2 separate regions of the Homo sapiens genome follow, and region 1 is linked to region 2. Evidence: promoter capture Hi-C in human tissues and cell types (Jung and others, 2019). All regions are on one chromosome and are shown on one strand. Each heading gives the region's core, a stretch centred on a gene start or on the middle of the fragment in contact. The rest is flanking DNA. Distances are from core to core; before and after follow the strand shown. Region 1 overlaps LOC124903678 (a long non-coding RNA gene). Region 2 holds the start of FBRS (fibrosin).

The links. Contacts are between HindIII fragments. The study calls those that stand out against the background at their distance.
Region 1: a contact is called between a fragment that was not itself captured here and the fragment with the promoter of FBRS in region 2, in 1 of the 25 tissues and cell types used here (H1 embryonic stem cells).

Annotation. Positions count from the first base shown.
Region 1 is chr16:30,612,013-30,616,172 of GRCh38, reverse strand. LOC124903678 (a long non-coding RNA gene) reads right to left here. Exons shown (of 2, transcript XR_007065051.1): 2 at 1-921. Among named protein-coding and RNA genes, the nearest start is that of ZNF689, 3.7 kb to the right of the region's middle. RefSeq lists a silencer at 314-554. The HindIII fragment of the contact is 7,596 bases long and covers 1-4,160 here.
Region 2 is chr16:30,654,609-30,661,736 of GRCh38, reverse strand. FBRS (fibrosin) reads right to left here and starts at 3,306. Exons shown (of 18, transcript NM_001105079.3): 1 at 1,760-3,306; 2 at 1,295-1,474; 3 at 522-557; 4 at 404-433. The coding sequence starts at 2,218. PRR14 (proline rich 14) reads right to left here. Exons shown (of 12, transcript NM_024031.5): 8 at 6,523-7,108; 9 at 6,317-6,386; 10 at 6,144-6,235; 11 at 5,798-5,869; 12 at 5,324-5,705. The coding sequence ends at 5,426. RefSeq lists enhancers at 751-910, 2,591-3,040 and silencers at 2,121-2,170, 2,241-2,470, 3,291-3,470, 3,521-3,600, 3,631-3,890. The HindIII fragment of the contact is 17,048 bases long and covers 1-7,128 here.

The DNA of each region.
Region 1 (4,160 bases), core at 1,637-4,136, 45 kb after region 2:
TGAGAGCTGCACAGCCTGCAATTACCTTTATTCAACTAATGCAAAAACAGAAAGGGGGAGATGTTGGAGGCCAAAAGAATGAGGGTCGTGACCAACTCAGTATACCACTGGAGGCTATATGAGCAAACAGCAAACTGTTCTCATGAATGCAGGATGTTGGCAAGCTGACAACTGCGTCTGCCACCAGAAGGAATGCTGAGGACAGTCACACACCAGGTGCAGTTGTTCCTTGTAGTTATCTATAGGAACATCTGGAGCCTGTTGTATAAAGAAAGCAATTATGTGAGCCTGTGCTAAATCAAGCAGCTGACCAACTACTACCTCTTAGTCCCTGTTGATTCTACCTAATAAATATGAAGGGCTGTAGAAGCTCAGGGCCCTTATTCCCTAGAAGCAAGGAGCCCCCGACACTTTCTTTAAAACAGATCCTTTTCTTTGTCTCCATTTCTGCGTTCGTCCTCCTTTGTTCAGTCCCGAACCGACAGCCACATTTGTGGGTCATGCAGTGTCTAATTCTCCCAGAGAGCTCACCTGGTCCAGCACCAGCTGCCCCCACACAGGGGACGAGCTCTGCAAGGGCTCCGACTGCAGCCACCTCTTCCACCTGAGGAGGGCGCTGTCCACGCACATATGCGGATGTGTGCACAGATGTGGGTGCCAGTTTGCATTCCCCTCCCTTGTGGCCACCACCAGGCACATGCACTTGGGTGAGCACTGCCACCACTGCCTACAGTGTGGCACTCCCCTTGCTGACTGGGAAACTTGCTCCAGCACCAGCTTATCCATGCAGGAGAGAAGCCCTACTGGTGCTTTGACTGTGTGTGGTGCGTGCACCAAAGAGGCTCCCTTGGCCATTCATAGGCACACGCATACAGGTGAGAAGCCTCAGTCCTGCTCTGAGTGTGGCATCTGCTTCTCCTGCTAAAAAAAAGAAAAAAAGAAATAAAAGCTTGGCTTTTCCCTTTTTAGATGGAGTCTCACTTTGTCCCCTAGGCTGGAGTGCAGTGATGTGATCTCAGCTCACTGCAACCTCTGCCTCCCATGTCCAAGCGATTCTCCTGCCTCAGCCTCCCAAGTAGCTGGGATTACAGGCATGTGCCACCACACCCGCCTAATTTTTTTGTATTTAGTAGAGAGGGAGTTTCACCATGTTGGTCAGGCTGGTCTTGAACTCCTGACCTCAGGTGATTTGCCCTCCTCAGCCTCCCAAAGTGCTGGGATTATAGGCACGAACCATCGTGCCTGGCCTGACTTTTCTTTTCTTTTTTGAGATGGAGTTTCACTCTTGTTGCCCAGGCTGGAGTGCAATGGTGCAATCTGGGCTCACTGCAACCTCAGCCTCCCCGGTTCAAGCGATTCTCCTGCCTCAGCCTCCTAAGTAGCTGGGATTACAGGCATGCACCACCACTCTCGGCTAATTTTTTGTATTTAGTAGAGACAGGGTTTCACCATGTGGGTCAGGCTGGTCTTGAACTCCTGACCTCAGGCAATCCACCCGCCTCAGCCTCCTGAAGTGCTGGGATGGATTACAGGTGTGAGCCACCACGCCCAGCTGACCTGACTTTTCTTAACAGATTCATGCAGCCCAGGTTTTTTGTTTGTTTGTTTGTTTTTGTTCTATTCATTTAAACACAGAGTCTCAATCTGTTGACCACGCTGGAGCGCAGTGGTGTAATAATCATAGTTAACTGCAGCCTTGAACTCTTGGGCTCAAGTCATCCTCTCGCCTTAGCCTCCCAAAGGGCTGGGACTACAGGCATGAGCCACCATGCCCACACGCCCAGCCACAATTAGGAGGCTAGAGCTCCCGCCTTTTTTTTTTGTTGTTGTTGTTGTTTTTGTTTTTTGAGACAGGATCTCATTCTTTCGCCCAGGCTGGAGTGCAGTGGTGCAATCTTGGCTACTGTAGCCTTGACCTCCCAAGTCTCAATCGATCCCCCCACCTCAGCTTCCCAAGTAGCTGGGACTATAAGTGCCCGACACCATGCCTAGTTAATTTTTGTATTTTTTGTAGAGAAAGGGTTTTGCCATGGTGGCCAGGCTGGTCTTGAACTCCTGGGCTCAAGCAATCCCCCCACCTCGGCCTCCCAAAGTGCTGGGATTATAGGTGTGAGCCACCACACCTAGCCTGTAACTGTAGTTTTTTTTCCACCACCTCTGTTCAAACATCTCCTTCCTCTGAATATCTCACTGCTGCCTCCTCATCCTCCTCCTCCTTCTTCTTTCTTCTCCTTCCTCTTTTTTTTTTTTTTTTTTGAGACGAGTCTCGCTCGGTCGAAAGCTCCGCCTCCCGGGTTCACGCCATTCTCCTGCCTCAGCCTCCTGAGTAGCTGGGACTACAGAAGCCCACCACCATGCCTGGCTAATTTTTTATATTTTTAGTAGAGACGGGGTTTCACCGTGTTAGCCAGGATGGTCTTGATCTCCTGACCTAGTGATCTGCCCGCCTCGGCCTCCCAAAGTGCTGGGATTACAGGCGTGAGCCACCAAGCCCAGCCTTTTTTTTTTTTTTTTTTTTTGAGACTTAGTCTTACTCTGTCACCCAGGCTGGAGTGCAGTGGCACCATCTTGGATCACTGCAACCTCCGCCTTCCAGTTTCAAACAATTCTCTTCGGCTGGGCCTGGTGGCTCATGTCTGTAATCCCAGCACTTTGGGAGGTCGAGGCGGACAGATCAGCTGAGGTCAGGAGTTCAAGACCAGCCTGACCAACATGAAGAAACCCCATCTCTACTAAAAATACAAAATTAGCTGGGTGTAGTGGCGCATGCCTGTAATCCCAGCTACTCGGGAGGCTGAGGCAGGAGAATCGTTTGAATCCGGGAGGCGGAGGTTGTGGTGAGCCGAGATTGCTCCATTGCACTCAGCCTGGGGAACAAGAGCAAAACTCCGTCTCAAAACAAAACAAAACAAAACAAAACAGAAAACAATTCTCATGCCTCAGCCTCCCAAGTAGCAGGGACTATAGGCATGTGCCACCAAGCCCGGCTAATTTTTGTATTTTTAGTAGAGACAGGGTTTTGCCATGTTGGCCAGGCTGGTCTTGAACTCCTGGCCTCACGTGATCCACCCACCTCGGCCTCCCAAACTGCTGGGATTACAGGTGTGAGCCACTGCTCCCGGCCTCATTGCCTTCTAATTTTGTGACTTTTCCTGCCACATTGTTTGTCTTTATTCCTTGAAAGCTTTGAGGTTAGTGTTTTGCCCATAGTATATGCTTTACAATATTGATTAAAGGGTTAGAGAGATAGATGTGCATGTCACTAGCTAAGAGACATGGCAAATGGTGTATTCTCCTGCTCGCAGGACCCTTGGGGGTGGCATTGAGCTGGTGAAACTCTGCAGTATAACACATACATAGAAGTAGGGGCTAGGGCGGGCGTGGTGGCTCATGCCTGTAATCCCAGCACTTTGGGAGGCAGAGGTGGTTGGATCATGAGGTCAGGAGTTCGAGACCAGCCTGGCCAAGATGGTGAAATCCCGTCTCTACTAAAAATACAAAAATTAGCCGAGCAAAGTGGCGGGTGCCTGTAATCTCAGCTACTCGGGAGGCTGAGGCAGGAGAATCACTTGAACCCGGGAGGCCAAGGTTGCAGTGAGCCGAGTTTGCACCACTGCACTCTAGCCTGGGCAACAGAGCAAGACTCCGTCTAAAAAAAAAAAAAAAAAGGGCTGGGCACAGTGGCTCACGCCTGTAATCCCAGCACTTTGGGAGGCTGAGACGGGTGGATCACGAGGTCAGGAGATCAAGACCATCCTGGCTAACATGGTGAAACCCCGTCTCTACTAAAAATACAAAAAATTAGCTGGGCGTGGTGGCGGGCGCCTGTAGTCCCAGCTACCCGGGAGGCTGAGGCAGGAGAATGGCGTGAGCCCGGGAGGCGGAGCTTGCAGTGAGCCGAGATGGCGCCACTGCCCTCCAGCCTGGGTGACAGAGCGAGACTCCGTCTCAAAAAAAAAAAAAAAAAAAAAATGTGGAGGCTAATGGGGTGGGTGCTGGCTTGTTCCATCAGCAATTTTCAGTTCAGTGCCTTTCACATACATGCTTGTATCATTCTGTTATGATTCATTGTGAATTTATATGCTTTACTAGACTGTAAGCTCCATTCAAAGCATGGCCTATGACTTATTTATGTACGCTCTCCCAATTGCCTAGCACTA
Region 2 (7,128 bases), core at 2,057-4,556:
CACTGACTACAATGATTTAGTGTCCTCACTACTCTATCTGCGGTCTCTGCTCAGACTTGAATCTAGATCTTCATTCTAAGATGGGAAGAAGGCCCATCTCAGTGCCACAGCCACTCTGGGTTTCCGTGGAGAACCAGAAGTAGCTCAAGGGCTTTGGAAAGGATAGTATGCCAAAGCATGGACCCTCCATTCCTTGGTCAGCTAACCCCTAGTCACCAAAAGAAAAAATGACGCCATTTACCCTCCCAATCCACCCCCGTTCCTCCCAAAAACCTAATCCTGACTCAACCTAAGCCATGTTTCTCACTCAAGGGAAGGCTGTCTGCTGCACGCAGAAGACCTTTATGCTGCAGTCCCTTTTACAAGCAGTGACACTGCCCACCCAAGCTCTAGCCCCACTCACCCTCTCGTCCAGATCACTTTCCGCGTCACACTGGGGAGAAGGAAAGACAGAGGTGTCACGAGAGGGAAGAGGCCCAGGGTGGAGCAGGGAGGGGCCAGGACAGGTGGATAGCACTTACTATGTATCCAGCTTCCAGAGAGTGACGGGAGGACGCCTGAGGAAGACCAGAGTCCAGAGGTGAGGGAGGCGGCTGCTGAGGCAGCTGGGAAAGTCGCAGCTCCCAGCAGGGCGCTCATGGGCCTCCAGGATCTACTCTCAGCCTCTCCTTCCAGCTGCTTCTCCCGCCACTGCCCACCCGGGTCCCAGTGCTCTCACCATTCTCTAAATACGCCGGGTCCTCACGTCTTCATGCTCTTGCCCAAAACAACTTTTCCCCGTGTCTTTTCTTAGCAAACTTCTGACTATACTTCAGGACCTGACTAAGACATCCTAGGGGGCTTTCCCCAACCACAACTCTCCTCCCATCCCCCAGGCAGCACAAGCGGCTTCCTCATGTGGGTTTCTGTAGCATCTCTCCCCATCTTTGTCTTCTGTAGCTTCTCAAATTAAGGTCTAGGTGTTTGCTTGCTGGCTATTTCTTTTCTGCTGGACTGCCACCACCTCGAGGAAGGGCAGGAACCACAATTAATTTACGACCCAACTATATTCCTTTGACGCCTCTCTGAATTATCAAAACGTTTGAAGTAGACACAGAACCAGGCAAAAGGAGGTGCACCTGACTGTAGACAGGCCTTCGTCAGACCCGGATGAGTAAGGGCTCAAATTTGCCCTGCTTGCCTCTTTGCCCTTAGAAACTGGGGTCTCTGTTTACAAGGGGCAGTGGCGTTGCTGATGAAAAACGGGGCTGTGGGAAATACATTCTGCCTAAAGAGTTTTAAGGGACAACCTCACCTCTTTTCTTCTCCGCTTATTGGGCCATTTTCGGGCCCGATCCCCAGGGGGCCGGCCAGGCTCTCGATCAGAGCTGTCCCCTGGCTCCCCGGTGGCCCCACTGGAGCCCCCCCTTTTCCGCTTCCCAGAATGCTTCAGCCGATGTTCCAGTCGCTCTGGGGGCTGAAGAGATGCATCCTTCTGTGGAGGAGGAGGTGGGGCTGAGATAGATGGAAAAGGGCAAGCTCCCAACCCCTCTAGGGGTGACCAGGTTGCCGAAGTACCCCTCGGGCCGGGAAACCGGGTCCCCAGAGACGAGCTCTACCTCCTCCCACCCCAGGGCGGGGCAGAGGCCTGGCCAGAGGAGCCGGTTGCTCTGGTTTGGGGTGCCAGCATTCCCCCCTCAACTCCACCCACTAGGGGCACTGCCCCCTCCTTGCTGCCCCTCGGAAACCCCCAAAGTCTCCTAGCCCCATTAGGCCCCACCTGCAAGGCCTCGAGGGTGGCGAAGCTGGCGATGGCGAAGCCATCGATCAAGTCCTCCTCCTCCTCTTCCTCCTCCTCAGGCTCCTCCTCGGCTTCGCCGTCGTCTGCGCCCCCCTCCTCCTCCTCCTCCTCCTCTTCCTCCCCGCGGCTGCCCGAGCCGGCAGGCCGCTTCCGAGCTCGGGGTCGCGGGGGTCGAGGTCTCGGACGGGGCCGCCGGCGTCTCGGGCCCCCAGGCCGCTCTCCAGACGAAGCTGACGACCAAGGCCTGGCGGGCGGCGGCGGCGACGACGAGGACGAGGAGCCGCGCGGGGCGGCCAACAGGGCCCGGGGCGCGTCGCCGCCTGGACCTCGGCGGCGCCGCTGCTCCCGGTCTCGGTCTCGGCGCGAGCAGCGCCGCCGTCGGCGCTCCCCCTCTGCTGCCCAGCCCGGACCCGGGGCCGCGGCCGCTGCCGTCTCCATGGCGACCGCCCTCAGCGCCGCATCCGGAGGCGGCGGGGCCCGAAGCGGCCTGTCCGCAGGCCCGGGGTCGCAGGCGCGGCGCTGGCGGCTGCACAGTGACGAGAGGGCCACGGCTTCTCCTTTAAAGCCGGATCTGCTGGCCCCGAGCTTGCCCCAAGGCCACGGCCCGGGGAGCCGGCGCCGCCCCCGGGGCGACAAGCCCGAGGGCCCCCCCTGCGGGCTCGGCGGGGCCGCGACGGCGAAAACGGGGCGGCCGTCCCTTTAAGGCGAGGCCCCAAGTTGTCCAGCTCCCGGCCCCTTTAAGACGACCCGACAGTGTCCGGCGGCCTAGTGCGGTGGCCACCCCCTGCCAGGGGTCGATGCAAGTCTCCCCGAGGAAGAGGAAGGGCCACCCCTTTAAAAGGGGCCGAAAGCTCGCCCCGAAACGCAGACCTCCCCTTTAAAAGTGTCTCAAGTCCTCCGGCTCAAAGAGGCCACCCCTTTAAGGAGTCCAGGGTCCTTCTAACAGCAGGCCGTCCCTTTAAGGGCTCGGAGTTAGTTTCTAGTCCTCCACAAGCGGCCACTTCCCCTTTAAGTTGAATTTAAAAGACTTCTTGTGTGTGGGGGAGGAGGACGTAAAGAAAAACCCCACTCGCCCCAGTTCTCCCAACGGCACAGTTCTCAATTTGTCAGCGTCTGCTCGGCGGCTTCCCCTTTAAGGCTGGCGTTGCAGTCCGCCGAGTTCAGTGGCCACCCCTTTAAGGAGATTTAAAGGGGCCTCCTCCGGGCCCAGCTCCTCCAGCCTCCGCCTCCGGTCGCCATGAAAGGCGCGAGGCGGGGCGGGGCAGCGAGGCCAGCCCTCCAAAGCCCCGGATGTGAGGCAACGGTGACGGGTACAGCTCCCCTGTCCGCCGACATAAAAGTCTCTTCCTCCTTTCCTCCGTCTCTGTCCGACTTGGGCCTTAGGGGATCCGGAACGGCCGATGGGCAGCGGGGGAGCTCCAGCACAAACTCCTGTTGTCTCCTTTGGAGTCTTAGGGCGCTTCTCCGCCAGGACTTCCCTACCCCTCCTCCCTCTTCCTCCTCAGCCTACGCCTCCTTCCTCTCTCGGCCTCCTCCCACGCTCCGCCCCCTTCCCCTCACCCCCAACGGGCGCAGTCGTTGATAGGCTGGGAGGGCTACGTCAAGGTGAGGGGCGGAGCCAAACCCGAGGGAGTGGGTGCATGTAACCGCCCTCAAATCTTGGATTGGGTTACGTCGGATTGGCTCCGCCCTTCCCCCCAGTCTTGTGACTCGACTGGTTAGAAGTAGGTGTTTGGGGCGGTTACTACAGGGCCCCGCCTCTTCCTGCTGTTTGTTTATTGGCCGGTCTCCTGATGGCGTCGAGGCGAGGGGCGGAGACGCGGGGCCTGAGGCGTTGGGGGCGGTTGGCCGCCGGGGGGCGCGCGGCTGCAAGAGGTTCCGTTCCACAGCCAGTTAAGTCATCGCCGCCTTTCCGCCGCTCGGCGCGGCCCACAGACAGCCTGGCGTCTCGCGCACGCGCGTGGCGGCGCCGCCGTCAGGCTGGCTGCTTGCGAGTCGTTCCGCGGCCCGGGGTGGCCCGAGCGGCCGCGTGCTGTGCCTGCGCCTGCGCCGGCCGCACTAACAGGCAGCCGCGTCCCTTCCAGGCGCGGCTGCTGGCAGCGGTCCCGAGTGCTAGCAATTCGAAAACGCCTTGCACCTGCATGAGCGCTTCTCCGCGTTTGTGACTGCGTTTGGTAATAATTCCATGAAGGAGATGCTGTCAGCCCCATTTTACTGGGACGGAAAGGAATGCGCGCACAGACGGGCTGGTAGTCTCCTAGCCACGTCTATGTCAGCCACTGCCCTGTGATGCCTCTCAGTTATGAAAGATGCACCCCACTGCTCAATGTGACTGGCTTAAAAAAAAAGAGACAGCCATTTCTGGCCTTCGGTTGCCCGGGTTACCGTTTTAAAAGTGGACAGCGCGCTGACATGCCTGCCTTGCTTTCTCGTCCATAAAATGACTAATTCCCTGTCGCAGGGACATGTGCAGGTCAAGCACCTATGACAGTCGTCGTGAGTGCTTCATTATGGCCCATTACTCTTAGCTCTTTGTTTTGTTTTGTTTTTTTGGGGGGGACAGAGTCTGGCTGTGTTCCCTAAGCTGGAGTGCAGTGGTGCGATCTCAGCTCATTACAACCTCTGCCTCTCGGGTTCAAGTGAATTCTCCTGGCTCAGCCTCCTGAGTAGCTGGGATTACAGGTACACACCAAGACACCCAGCTAATATTTGTATTTTTAGTGGAGACGGGGTTTCACCATGTTGGCCAAGCTGGTCTCGAACTCCTAGGCTCCTGTGATCCACCTGCCTCGGCCTCCCAAAGCGCTGGGATTACAGGCGTAAGCCACCGCACCTGGCCTAGCCGTAGCTCTTGAATCCAGCAGCAGGTCCTGGCCTGCATGTTAGCAGGAATTCAGGGCCATCTTGATCTTCAAGGCCTTGACCCACTATAGGCCTTTCAGTCTCCTTGATATAAATGAATTGGGAGAACCCAGACCACGGTCTAGGGTCACAGTATCATCTGGCACTGATTCAGAAGTGTCCCTCCACACAGGAGAATCCTCTAAGCAAGAGAGTATCTCTAGGCCGGGCATGGTGGCTCATGCCTGTAATCCCAGCACTTAGGGAGGCCAAAGCAGGCGGATTTCCTGAGGTCAGATGTTCAAGACCATCCTGGCCAACATGGTGAAGCCCAGTTTCTACTAAAAATACAAAAATTAGCGGGTGTGGTAGCGCACGCCTGTAATCCCAGATACTTGGGAGGCTGAGGCAGGAGAATCGCTTGAATGAGGGAGACAGAGGTTGCAGTGAGCCAAGATCGTGCCATTGTACTCCAGCCTGAGTGACATGAGCGGAACTCCATCTATATCTATCATCTATCTATCTATCTATCTATCTATCTATCTATCTATCTATCTCAAGTGACCACTTCACCCCCTCCCTGTACTCTGTACCCAACCCCTGTCACCATCTCTAGCACCAGCCCCAGTTCCCAGACCTTTGGGGGTCAACGTAGAAACATCAGCCAAATCAATCTTAAACTCAGCTAGAGATACAAAAGAATCAGAAACATATCGAAAACTTTACTAGAAATATAGAGAAAAAAAAATAACTGCCTGGGAGGTTTCCTGTCCCTTCAGGATGGATGACCAACAGATGGGGCACCTAGGTCCAGTGGGGCTGCTCCCGATCTACTGTTTCTTCCTCCAGGAGCAAGGCATCTAGCTCCTCCAGCCGCTGCTGGAGCAGGGGGCCCACATCAGGGCTGGGGGCCACATTGGGAGGAACAGTCCTGCCCCCTGCAGCCCGGACCCCACGGGACGGTCTTCGTGATCGAGGAAGGCTGCTGTCCCGAAATTCCACAGCCCGCCGGAGCTTCCTTGAGCTGGTGAAAATCAGAGTCCCATTGCGCTCCCGGGGTTCCTCAAAGATGGTCTCAAAGGTCCTGAACAAGGCAGGGAGAGGAGCTGGTTTTATCAGGGTGCTCCACAGCTCCAGATTTCCCTCTGCCACCCTCTAGCCTTCCAAGTGTCTCACCTCCTGGTTGTGGGTGATTGGTAATTCTTGTTGGTGTAAATTTCTTCCAAGCTGAACTCCTTCTTGTTCAACCTGTGAGCAAAGAGCAGAGGCCACTGAGAAACCTTGGGCCAGTGGGGCCTGAAGGGACAGGTAAGGCCTGGTCTGTATTTCAGTTTCTGGGACATGTCAGGGCCAGGAGTGCTACATAAGGCAGACAGGCAATTTTGAGCACAAACCATCCCCACACCGAATTGAATCTTTCAGGCTGGACTGTGCTCCCTGAGGGGAGACAAAGCTATACTTCAGGGGACATAAGCCTGCATCTGTTTGGCCAAGATGGCTCAATGCCCAGTGAGCCCCTCACCTGATTGGTCGAGGCAGTCCCATTGGTGTAAGGTTTAGCTGAGGACGGGCTGGTGTTCTGCGTATTCTGAATCGAGAAACCTTTCCCATGGTCTGCAAAAATGGGGCAGAGGGTGAAAGAGTGACATGGGCTCAGGCCCCCACTAGTCTCTTCTACCCGATCTGAATGCCTACCTTGGTCTCAGGTTCTGAAAGCACCTGGTCCTTTGAGGCTCTTGGCTCCTTCCCTTTGGTTGAACCCAACCTGCCAAGAAGGTCAAGGCTCAGGGACAAACAGGATTCACTGCATTATCCCCCGTCTCCTGCCCACTGGATACTCAGGGAAGGAGGCTGGGACCAGGCTGCAGCCAGGCTTCAAGGGGGTTTTTTGAGAGCACTACCTGGGTTCTGCTGGTTCGGAGAAGGAAGTGGATGCCGTGGACGAGCAAGATGTGGTGAGAGAAGGGGAGGCTCCCACTCCTCCGAGAGGGAAGACCTCTTTCCGGAGACAGGGCCGAGGGGGTGGCGGGGCTCGGGCCATTTCCCCACCACCCACAGTGTGCCGCCGCGGCCGTGGTCGGCTTGGTTGGGGTGGAGCAGGTGGCCAGGTGCAGGTACCTGGGCCAGGGGGCCCCAGATCAGGGCAGGAGTAGCTTCGGCCCAGAGAGGGCTTAGGGAGAAGTGCTGGGGTATTGTGGTCCTGAGTTCGCCACTGGCGGATTGGGGGCCGGGGGCTGACAGACGCAGTGCCCTCAGCAGCCCCAGACTGCTCGGCCTCTGAGATGGCGATCTTCAACTCCAGCTTCATTGGGGGGGACGGGGGTGGGGGCTGTGGGGTTTTGTTGGGCGTGAGGAAGATGTCAGCAAAGCTCTCCAGCTTGGAGCGGACGGAACGGAAGAGCGGGGCCAAGCCCCAGGGACTGAGGCGGGGGCGTAAAAGGCTGGACGGTGGTGGGGTGGATGGGAGCTCCAGAGCAGGATCTGGGGCTGAGGAAAGGAGAGGGTCA